Regions from separate parts of the Homo sapiens genome. Here region 1 is linked to region 2. The links are contacts of gene promoters, found by promoter capture Hi-C in blood cells and fetal thymus (Javierre and others, 2016). All regions are on one chromosome and are shown on one strand. Each heading gives the region's core, a stretch centred on a gene start or on the middle of the fragment in contact. The rest is flanking DNA. Distances are from core to core; before and after follow the strand shown. Region 1 overlaps SHCBP1L (SHC binding and spindle associated 1 like). Region 2 holds the start of NMNAT2 (nicotinamide nucleotide adenylyltransferase 2).

What was found. Contacts are between HindIII fragments. The CHiCAGO score rates a contact against its expected background, and 5 or more counts as called.
Region 1: a fragment that was not itself captured here is called in contact with the fragment with the promoter of NMNAT2 in region 2 in 1 of 17 cell types (endothelial precursors); the score reaches 5.4 in endothelial precursors.

The regions. Positions count from the first base shown.
Region 1 is chr1:182,895,523-182,901,483 of GRCh38, reverse strand. It overlaps SHCBP1L (SHC binding and spindle associated 1 like), which reads left to right. Exons shown (of 10, transcript NM_030933.4): 10 at 1,250-1,619. The coding sequence ends at 1,501. Among named protein-coding and RNA genes, the nearest start is that of SHCBP1L, 55 kb to the left of the region's middle. The HindIII fragment of the contact is 650 bases long and covers 1,596-2,245 here.
Region 2 is chr1:183,416,522-183,422,567 of GRCh38, reverse strand. It overlaps NMNAT2 (nicotinamide nucleotide adenylyltransferase 2), which reads left to right and starts at 4,188. Exons shown (of 11, transcript NM_015039.4): 1 at 4,188-4,385. The coding sequence starts at 4,301. The HindIII fragment of the contact is 2,573 bases long and covers 2,697-5,269 here.

The sequences.
Region 1 (5,961 bases), core at 671-3,170, 520 kb after region 2:
CTGAAGCACTCTTTTTTTTCTTTTTTGAGATGGAGTTTTGCTCTTGTTGCCCAGGCTGGAGTGTAATGGCGCGATCTCAGCTCACCGCAATGTCTGCATCCCAGGTTCAAGCGATTTTCCTGCCTCAGCCTTCTAGGTAGCTGGGATTACAGGCATGCGCCACCACGCCCAGCTAATTTTGTATTTTTAGTAGAGACGGGGTTTCTCCATGTTGGTCAGGCTGGTCTCGAACTACTGACCTCAGGTGATCCGCCCGCCTCTGCCTCCCAAAGTGCTGGGATTACAGGTGTGAGCCACCACGCCTGACCTGAAACACTCTTTCTATAGATCTTATTACTATCTGAATGTGGTTGTCCCTCTTCAAAGAAGCCTTTAATGTAAAGAACACTCAAGTGGTAACCTCTCCCCACCCAGTCATGCTATCACATTACCTTATTTTCTCCAAATCACATATTATTTGAAATTACTTATTTTCATGTTTATTATGTTATAAGAGATCAGCTTCATGGGTTGTATTGCCATACAGAATTAGTTGTTTTTATCAATAACTGATAAAAGTAAATTGAAAACTTCATTAAATATTTTCTTACACTTTTTTTTTCTTTTTCTTTTTGTGGAGAATAGGGTCTTGCTATATTGCCCAGGCAGGTCTCGAACTCCTGGGCTCAAGCTATCCTTCTGCCTCTGCCTTCTTAAGAGCTGGGATTACAGGGCATGAGCCACCGCACCTGGCTCATTTAATATTTTGTTATTGGCTGGGCATGGTGGCTCACGCGTGTAATTCCAGCGCTTTGGGAAGCCAAGGCGGGTGGATCACGAGGTCAGGAGCTCGAGACCAGCCTGGCCAAAATATTGAAACCCCGTCTCTACTAAAAATACAAAAATTAGCCAGGTGTGGTGGCACGCGCCTTGTAGTCCCAGCTACTTGAGTGGCTGAGGCAGGAGAATCACTTGAACCGGGAGGCGGAGGTTGCAGTGAGCCAAGACTGTGTCATTGCACTCCAGCCTGGGCAACAAAGCAAGACTCCATCTCAAAAAAAAAAATTCTTATTAAATATTTTTTGTAGTTAATATTACGTTAGTTGGTGTCATGAAAACAGTACTTAACACTTGTTCAAAATTGAGAGTCTTGGTTGTTTTAAAAAATCTGTTAATCCAAGAATAAAGTCTAAGCTAATTTTTATATGTTCATTACTTCATTTTTTAAATAAAATCATTGAAAAACTAATTTCCTCAAATAATTTAATAGGTTCTTCCAGCACCCAAATTGAAGATGACTAATAATCATATTTATAGCAACAAAGGCTATGGAGTAAGCATTCTTCAACCAATGGAACAGTTTTTTATCGTAGCAGAAGAAGCTCTCAACAAAAGGGCTTCTTCAGGAGATAAAAAAGATGATAAAATGCTCTTCAAAGTAATGCAAAATCTGAATCTGGAAATGAATAATAATAAGATAGAAGCAAACGTCAAGGGGGATATCAGAATAGTCACAAGTTAAAGCGTCTGAATTGATGTTAAAGTTTTATATTTCACAAATTTGTTTAATACATGATTCTCATACCCCACTGAAATGGTAGTTTCAATTCAAAGCTTAATTAAAAAATATTTAAATATCATGCTTTCACTGAATGATTCATTTTACATATTTTTAAAATAACAGCTTTATTAAGATATAATTCACATGCCATAAAATTCACACATTACAAAGTGTACAATTCAATGATATTAGTATATTTTTAGTATATAGTACAGTCATCACTATTTAATCCAGAAACAAATATGGTTTTAAATATTGTTTTCTAATACTCCTCCAATAAAAAGCATTAGGTGTTCCATATAGACAAGAGACAAAATTTAATTTATCGCTAATTCACAGTAACCAGAATAAGATAATATGTCATATATTAAGATAGGTTCTTTAAGCTCATTCTTATACATTTTAGAAGAAAAAAGTGAAAAAAAGAAAAAAATAGGATAGATTCAACAGCAAGAAACAAGGAAATCCAAAATAAGAGAGGTAAACAATACAGAAATGTATTTCTCCCTCATAGTCAATAGTTGCAGAGAATAGGGCTAATAGATGTTCCTTGTGGGAACTCAGCGTAGGGCTGGTAGGTAGGTATGTAGGTAGGTAGGTGTTTTGCGTTGTCAGAAATTCAGGTTTCTTCTATATTGTTTCACGATTGTAAGATTTCCATGAAAAATCACTATACGATCCAAGACAGCAATTGGTAATCAAGCTTTCATGCCTGGTTTTCAGCCAAGCAGAAGGGAAAGAACCTTTCTTCAAAGTTGCACACATTATTTTGACTTTCATGCTTCTACCTAGAATGTTATTATGTGGCTACGCTTAGCTGCAAATGAGAAATATAATCTTTACATTGGATGGTCATGTGGCCTCTAAAATAGAGAGTTGATTTTCTAAGAAACAACGAATGGTCTTTTCCCAAAGCAGAGCTTATGTTGACTTAAGAATATAAAAAGAAATTTAAGCATTCAGGCTTAAATACTTAAACTTTTGACTTTTACTTCATGTTATGTGTAACCTAACAAAGGTTACGCTGAATTGCCATAAACAATCTCTTGAGGCTGAGAGTTGATTTTTTTTTTTTTTTTTTGGGGAGATGGAGTTTGGCTCTATCGCTCAGCCTGGAGTGCAGTGGCGCGACCTCAGCTCACTGCAAGCTCCGCCTCCCGGGTTCACGCCATTCTCCTGCCTCTGCCTCCCGAGTAGTTGGGACTACAGGCGCCTGCCACCACGCCCGGCTAATTGTTTTTTTTTTTTTTTTTTTTTTTTTTTTTTTTTTTGTATTTTTAGTAGAGACTGAGTTTCACCGTGTTAGCCAGGATGGTCTCGATCTCCTGACCTCGTGATCCGCCAGTCTCGGCCTCCCAAAGTGCTGGGATTACAGGTGTGAGCCACAGCGCCCGGCCCAACAGCACTTTTTTAAAAGAAGAAAACCTATAGGCAGTTCCATAGATTTTGATTATACATAGTCTGTGTACACAAAGACTTGTTAAAATAATTCCAGGATTGTCCTTGGGGGCCTTAACAAGAAACATCTTTCTATAATGAACGTAGTGAGTATTAAGGGTGGGGATTTTCCTTTTCCATCCTCTTCCCCTACCTTTCTCAGTTTTTGGCTTCAGAAAGAATAGGTAATGGGCAAAGTAATATCTTTGAAGGTATACAATAAAAGCAGTAGCCTTGTGTAAACAAACTTCTTACTCTGGCCATCTACCTCCCTTCTGTTGCTGCCACTGGTTTCTAACCTATTTGTCTTTTCCCAGGCCAACTACAGAATATGGTGATGCTGTTTTTTCGTTTCATGATTCTAAAACGTGCATAAAGCATTTTTAAGATTTTCTAAGAATTTTGATATTTCATAAAATTAATTTTTTTCCTCTTCTACCTTTCCACCCCTACTTTTCCCCCTATACCTTATAAATGAAAGACTGAATTTATATATTGTATATATTGTGTTAGTTTTCCATTGCAGTCATAATAAGTCACCACAAACTTAGTGGCTTAACACAGATTTATAATCTTACAGTTCTGTAGGTCAAAAATCTGACATGGGTCTCACTGGGCCAAAATCAAAGTGTTGACAGGCCTGCATTCCTTTTTGGATGCTCTAGGGAAGGATCTGTTTCCTTGTTCATTTGGATGTTGACAGAATTCAGTTCCTTGTAGTTGTAGGATTCAGTTCCCTGTTTCCTTGACGGTTGACAGCTGAGTTTCTGGTGGCCGATTGCATTCCTTGGCTCATGGCCTCCATCCATTTTCAAAGCCAGCAACAGTGGATCAAGTGTCTCTCCTCTGAGTCTCTTGTCTATTCTTTTGTCTCATCTCCCTGACTCCTTCTTCTACCTCCCTCTTCCACTTTTAAGGACTCATATGATTAGATTGACCCTGCCTGGATGATCCAGGGTAATCTCACATCTCAAGATTCTTAACTTTATATATATAATTATATATATATGATTCTTAACTTTTAAAATATATATTTTATATGTTAAAAGTTAATAATCATATATAAGAACTATGTATGATTATATACTAGATAATATAATCTATAAACTATATAGTTAAATATATAAATAATATATAGTGTAATATATATACTTATTCTTAAATATTTAAATATGTATATATTCTTATATATTATATATATTTAAATACATATATTTAAAAAAATAAGATTCTTGGCCTGGCGTGGTGGCTCACGCCTGTAATCCCAGCACTTTTGGAGGCTGAGGTGGGCAGATCACCAGGTCAAGAGATCGAGACCATCCTGGCCAACATGGTGAAACCCTGTCTCTATTAAAAATACAAAAATTAGCTGGGTATGGTTGCGTGTGCCTATAATCCCAGCTACTTGGGAGGCTGAGGCAGGAGAATTGCTTGAACCTGGGAGAGATGGAGATTGCAGTGAGCCGAGATGGCGCCATTGCACTCCAGCCTGGTGACAGAGTGAGACTCTATCTCAAAAAAAAAAAAAAAAACTTGAGATGTGAGATTATTTATTATATAATAGATATATATTATAATGTACATATAATGTATTATATTAACACAAAAATGTAAAACTAAAATAATGTATTTATTGGTTATTTTTTACATGTTAGCATGAAAAATGTTTTACAGTTATGCCTGTTAAGATGAGAAACATTTAACATTTGATTATATAGCCAACTGCTTTGTTACCTTTATCTTAAATTTATTTCTAGGTATGAAAGAAATATGGAATTTCAAAGTTTGAAAATTCCTAAAAGTGCTTCCATTTAAGATAAATCCTAGGATGACCAATTCATCCCAGTTTGCCCAGGATTTTCCCAGTTTTAGCACTTCTTCTGTCTTAGGAAAACAGATAGTCCTGGGCCAATTGAGGCATTTGGCAACTCTAGTCAGTTCCCAGGAAGTAAAGATTCTTTTTACATCTTTTTTCTATGTCTTAAAATTTATTTTTTTAATCTTTAGTTTTGTGTATACATAGTGGTGTATATAGTTATGAGGTACATGAGATAATTTGATACAGGCATGCAATGAGTAATAACCACACACAATAAATGGGGCACCCATCACCTCAAGCATTTATTCTTTCTTTTTGTTACAAACAATACAATTATACACTTTTAGTTATCTTTTTTAAAAATTTTATTTCAATCGTTTTTGGGGAGCAGGTGGTGTTTGGTTACATGAATAAGTTCTTTAGTTGTGGTTTCTGAGATTTTGGTGCACCCAACACCTGAGCAGTGTACATTGTATCCAATGTGTAGTCTTTTATCCCTCACTCCCTCTTACCCTTTTCCCAAGTCCCCAAAGTCCACTATATCACTCTTATGCCTTTGCGTCCTCATAGCTTAGCTCCCACTTATAAGTGAGAACATACAATATTTGGTTTTTCCATCCCTGAGTTACTTTACATAGAATAATGTTCTCCAATTCCACCCAGGTTGCTGCAAATGCAATTATTTCATTCCTTTTTATGGCTGAGTAGTATTCCATAGTATGTATATACTACATTTTCTTTATCCACTTGGTTGATGGGCATTTAGGCTGGTCCTGTATTTCTGTAGTTGTGAATTGTGCTGCAATAAACATACGTGTGCAAGTGTCTTTTACATATAATGATTTATTTTCCTCTGGGGAACTACCCAGTAGTGGGATTGCTAGATCAAATGGTAGATCTACTTTTAGTTAAAGAATCTCTATACTGTTTTCCATAGTAGTTGTACTAGTTTACATTCCCACCAGCAGTGTAAAAGTGTTCCCTTTTCACCACATCCATACAAATATCCATTGTTCTTTTGATTTTTAAATTATGGCCATTTATGTAGGAGTAAGGTGGTATCTCACTGTGGTCTTAATTTGCATTTCCCTGATAATTAGTGATGTTGAGCATTTTTCATATGTTTCTTGGCCATTTGTATATCTTTTTAATTTTAAAATTTTTA
Region 2 (6,046 bases), core at 2,939-5,438:
TCCAGCTCATGATCTAGTCACTTCTCAAAGGCCCTATGCATTAGTATGTTCTTGCTCTGCTTTAAAGAAATATCTGAGACTAGGTAATTTATAAAGAAAAGAGGTTTGATTGGCTCATGATTCTGCAGCTTGTACAGAATGCATAACGGCTTCTAGGGAGGCCTCAGGAAATTTTTACACATGGTGGAAGGCAAGGGGGAAGCAGGCAGGACTTACATGGCTGGAGCACGAGGAGTGGGTGGAAAGAGATGCTATACACTTTTAAACAACTAGATCTCATGAGAACTCACTATCAAGACAACACCTACATGGGGGATGGTGTTAAACCATGAGAAATTGCCACCATGACCCAATCACCTCCCACTAGGCACCACCTCCAACGTGGGATTACAATTCAACATGAAATTTGGGTGAGGACACAGATCCAAACCATATCACCCTACCTCTTAAGACCATGACATGGGGGATTAGGTTTCAATATATGAATTTTGGGGGACAGAAACATTCAGACCTTAGCACATGGTAAGGTATCTCTCAGTCTGTTCTCCAATCTCTGCTAAGAAGTCCTATTCTCTCAATTATGAACTAGCTATCATTTATTGATCATCTACTATATGCTAGGTGTTCTACATACATTACCTCTAATCTTCACATCTCTGCAGCTTGGTGGGTATTGTTTTCCTCATTTTACAAATATGGCCAGTATAGCATAGCAGGGAAACAAGATGAGAGAGTAGCCTTGTATCAAGAGTAGGGCCTTCAATCAAAACTGTCAGGGTTTGAATCTGGTTCCATACATGCTAGCAGTCTCAACCCAGACCAGTTACTTAATTTCCCTGTGCCCCTGTAGGCTTATCTCTAAGATAGAATAAAATCATACAAACTCACAGAGTTATTGTGAGTGTTAAAGAGTTAACATCTGTAAACATTTTACAGTGCTTGGGCTTCTAGTAACACCCAATGAATGTTAGCTACTATTATTAATTTGGTGTGCCCCAGGGTTGAAACTGAGGACCTCCTTTTCACTCTGTATATCTGTTTCTCCCTAGGTAACCTCATCTAGTCCCATGACTTTAAATATAAACTACACTGAAGACTCCAAAATTTATATCTTCTGCCAAACATACTTTTCAAACGTTGAGTCACCTCATGTCACTTCTCCACTCAAAACCCTCGAATGGCTTCCCATCCCTTCTAAGTGAAAAAACCAGAGCCTTAATTAAGACCTACAAGGCCCTGTATGATCTGTCCTTCTTTTTGGACCTGTCTTTGAGTGCTTTCCACATTCTTTGTTTTCTCCAGTCACCTTGGTGTGCTTGTCAAACACCCCCAAGCACTCTTAGTCTTCCGATCCTTTATACTAGCAGTCCTGCCTGGTATATTCTTCCCTAGATATTCAAGTGACACATACCTTCACTTCATTTAGGTCCCTGTTCAAACACTGTCTTATCAAAGAGGCCATCTTTGACCCCTGCAAATAAAAGAGGATTTTCTTTCTTTCTCTTTTCTTCACATTCTGCTTTATTTTTCTTTATGGTACTTTTTACCATTATGTTTATTCATTTGTTTATGGTCTGTTGTTTTCCCCTGGAATGTGAGCTGTATTAAAGCAGGGACTCTGTTTTGTTCACAGCCCCTAAATCAGGGCTTGGTGCATGGCTGACACTCAATAAATATTGATTGCTTAACTATAATTATGTCAATTGCCTAGCTAGTGAGTCTCAGTTTCATACCTGAGTCAACCTCCCTTTACAAGCTCTAGCTCTTTTTAAGCCACTAATCTGCATATCATATTAGGGAAGATACAAACCCCATTATAAATATATATCAGTTCTTAGGAGTCTTCTATTTAAACTAGAAATTTTATGCGTATTAGGGTTGATTTGCTATTCATCATAATTTAACAAATATTTACTCCACACCTACCACATGCTCTTGGATAAGAAAAAACACAGTGACCAACTCACTAATATGGGGTGGAAATTTATCCAAGAAACTTGAAGCCCAGGATAGGTACGTATTTGTACTTGTCAATCTCTAAGTTAAGAATTATTGGCTCTGGCTGGGTCTGTGGCCCATGCCTTTAATCTCAACAGTTTGGGAGGCTGCCGTGGGTGGATTGCTTGAGGTCAGGAGTTCAAGACCAACCTGGGCAATATAGTGAGATCCCATCTCTACAAAAAACACGAAGAATTAGCTGGACATGGTGGCAAACACCTGTAGTCCCAGCTACTTGCAAGGCCGAAGTGGGAGGATTGCTTGAGTCCAGGAGATCGAGGCTGTGGTGAGCTGAGATCATGCCACTGCATTCCAGCCTGGGTGACAGAGTGAGATCCTGTCTCAAAAAAAAAAAAAAAAAAAAAAAGAATTATCCTCTATATCCAATTCATCTGCAAAGAATTATTGGTTCTTTCTGTTGTATAAGCATAGAACATCTATCTTCCCCTACCATTCTCAATTTCAGTCTACTCATTGTTTAAGCCAAATTTCAAAATCTATAAAACATATCCTGAGACCATCTACTTCTCGTTGCTCCCGTCTCTATAAACCCTGGTCTCAGGACAACTCCACTTGCCTAGGCTACCAGATTTTCCTAAATGCTTTCCTTGTCTTCCCATTTGCCCTCCCTTTCCACCCAGCAGCCAGAGTGATCCTATAAAAATGTAAATTACATATTATTCCCCTGCTTAAAAGCTTCAGTGGCTTCCTTTTGTTATTATTCCACTTAGAAAAGTGTCTAACTCTTGCCCTAGTCTACAAGCCCCATTTGATCTGGCCCTGATCACCTGCTGCTCAGTCTTCTATCATTTTTCCCCTTGCCCATACTTTCTAGCATCACTGGCCTTTCATTTCTATGAATACAGTAAGCCCTTCCCTGTCCCTGAATACGTGAGCTAGCAACTACTCCTGTCGCTCAGGTCTCACTGAAATGTCACCTCCCCAGAGAGGCCTTCTCAGACTACTTGATTCGTCCTCTCTTCTCCACTCACTCTCTGCTCTGTCAGAGAGTAAATTGCATTCACTTACTGTGCATTGCACAATTGCCATCTAATATTTATTGTCTATCTTCCTCCAGTAAAATGAAGACAGTGACTTTGCTTCACCAGCAGGGTTTATAGCAATACTTGACACATAATGAGCCCTCAAGAAACACTTGTTAAATGGTAAGTCTTTGTCTCAACTTTGGTAGCTTATGGAGGATCCCCATCATTTTCTTTTTTCTTTTTTTTTGTTTCGAGATGGATTCTCGCTGTCGCCCAGGTTGGAGTGCAGTGGTGCGATCTTCGCTCACTGCAACCTCTGCCTCCCAGGTTCAAGCAATTCTCCTGCCTCAGCCTCCTGAGTAGCTGGGATTACAAGCACTCGCCACCATGCCCGGCTAGTTTTTGTATTTGCTTTTTAGTAGAGACAGGGTTTCACCGTGCTGGCCAGGCTGGTCTCGAACTCCTGACCTCGTGATCCGCCCGCCTCGGCCTCCCAAAGTGCTGAGATTACAGGCATGAGCCACCGCACCCGGCGGATCCCCATAATTTTCTAATACAGTTTTAGTAACTCTGCCCCCTTCATGTTCTCTCAAACGGATAGCATTGCTTCGCCCACGAAAAGGATCAGTATTGCAGAGGAAGGGCTTAGATCACCCCTATCTCTCTGCAGCCAGCAGATCAAGATTTGGACTCAACTCAATAGTTTGGAATCATCAGATAAAGGAAAAAGGAAAAGCAGAAATGAATACTACTGAAATAAACAATGGTCATTTCTCACTTAAAATTTTGAGGAAGAGAGAAAGAAAAAATACCTTAAGATCAAACATTTTTTAACTTGGAGATGTTAGAGAAAGTAGGGGGGACAGAAAAATGTTAGAATGAGGAGGAAAACTGAATCAAGATGAGGCAAGAGGCAGAAAGAGCTCACACCATGCTGTGGGCTCTTGGTTCTGAGCTTGGATACCACGTCTTGCCTTCTGGATAAACTCTAAGGAAGACAGTGATGGAGTGAAGTGGGCTGGGGGCGATAGAGAGGATGGGGTGGGGCACCAGGCGAGAGATGCGAAGGAAGCCAGAACGAAAAGAGAGCGACCGAGGAGAGAAGAGAGCAGAGCAATACAAAAGCAGCCTCGGATCTAGCCGGAGCTGCAAGCGTTAAGGGGAGGCGGAGAGTGACGCGGTTTGCGTCTGGAGCGGCTCCTTGGAGTCCACAGCATCCACCGCCGGAGCCTCGCCTTCCTTTCTCCCTCTGCAGACACAACGAGACACAAAAAGAGAGGCAACCCCTAGACCACCGCGAAGGACCCATCTGCACCATGACCGAGACCACCAAGACCCACGTTATCTTGCTCGCCTGCGGCAGCTTCAATCCCATCACCAAAGGGCACATTCAGATGTTTGGTGAGTCCTCCCGCCCACCTCTGGAAGCCGCTTCCGCTCCTCTCCTTTCCCAGGCACCTGTGTTTTCCAGGGCGATCGAACGGGAAGGCGTGTGCCCCTTCGGAGGGGTGGGCCGGCTCATCCAGCTGGTGGAGGTCGGCCCCTTCATTTTGGACTCAGGGGAGGGTACGCAGACTGCGTTTCCGAGGCGTCACTTGCCGGGGCCAGACCCGGCTCGCAGGGGGCCAAAGGTGGGGGATGGGAGGGGACTAGAGATGAGTATCATTTGGGGCTGGGCAGGGGTTCGAGATACCAGAACTGGAGTGTGGCGGTGCGGTGGTTCGGCTACCAGGCTGGCGAAGACCGGGATGGGGGCAGAGGTTGGGGCGCCGAGTAGGGGAGGAAGGGGCTGGAGATAACGTGCTGTTTGTTTAGGATGGGCCGAAAGCTCGAAGGAGTTAAATCATGTATGTGCCTGGGATTCGCAAACACACTCGCGCCCGACACACCGGTGACAGGGGCTGGGGCTTCAAGATTAATTTCGGATTTGGCTGGTGATTCTGGGCGGCCCAGGGACCAGTGTTTGGGAATTGTGGGCCGTGTATTGCCCGCGCGAGGTGGATGCTGAGTGAATAGGGAGGGGGCCCTTTTCCGCCTAGGTTCGGCCTCAGGGACCCGCTGCCTAGGACGGGGAGGGGGCCGGGCGGAGGCTGCGGGAGGCCCTGCGCGAGCCGGAGCCGAAGGATCGGGGCCCAAGTTGGCTGAGGCTCTGCCCAGGGTGGCGATGGCACTCGGAAGGCTTGAGGCGTCTAGTGTGTGTACGAATGTGCGAATGACTGTGTGTGAGTATATGCGTGTGCGTGTTGGGGGGAGGGGACTTATCGCGCGTTTGTTTCTTAGAAGCTTTGGGGCGTGGAGTCAGAGAGAGCGAGCGGGGGCATCCGGCTGGCTGGTTCGGGGTCCAGCAGCGGTAGGGGAAAGGTGATCGATAGATGCCTATTGGAGGTCTCGCGCCACCGGTGGGAAGCCACGCGGCTTCGCAGCTGCTCGTAGGACTCAAAGGCGTGGGGCATGAGCGTTTAGACACGGAAAGAGGGACGCGGAGGTCACTTTAGAAGCAGGAATTGAGAAGTTAGAAGTTGGGGGTGCTTTTTCTTGAAACTGAGAGAAGCGAGGAGTAGGGAAAAGCGAGTGGGCTGGGATGGATGAGAGAGCGTGTGGGAGGCCCTGACCTGGCCCGCCAGCAAGGCGCTCTCCAGAGGCGGCGGTGCTGAAATGCAGGGCGCGCCGGAGCTGGATGCGGGCACACGTGTTTATCCGGAGCCTGAGGACTGCGCGAGCCCTCCTAGGGAGGTTTAGTGAAAACCACACCACAGCGGTAAAGACAGGGCGAGGTGGCTTAGGCTAAAAATATTCATCTTTAAACTTAAAAGGTGCGCTGAACTGGGCTCGCTTGTTAAAAACCTCATGGAAAGAATATAGAACTACTTTGAGCAAAGGGCAAATCGGGTAGGCATATCTACACGATAGAAGGAGGGAGGCTGAGAGATAGCCATCCCTTCTTCACCATTCCTTCAGCTTTCAAAAGTCTTTTATTAAGAACCAATGCCAACTTGCCTGTTAAATAAGGACTTCTGTTCCAGCATCAGGGTAGACAAGAGCATGTCATCAGTCTTCTAAGG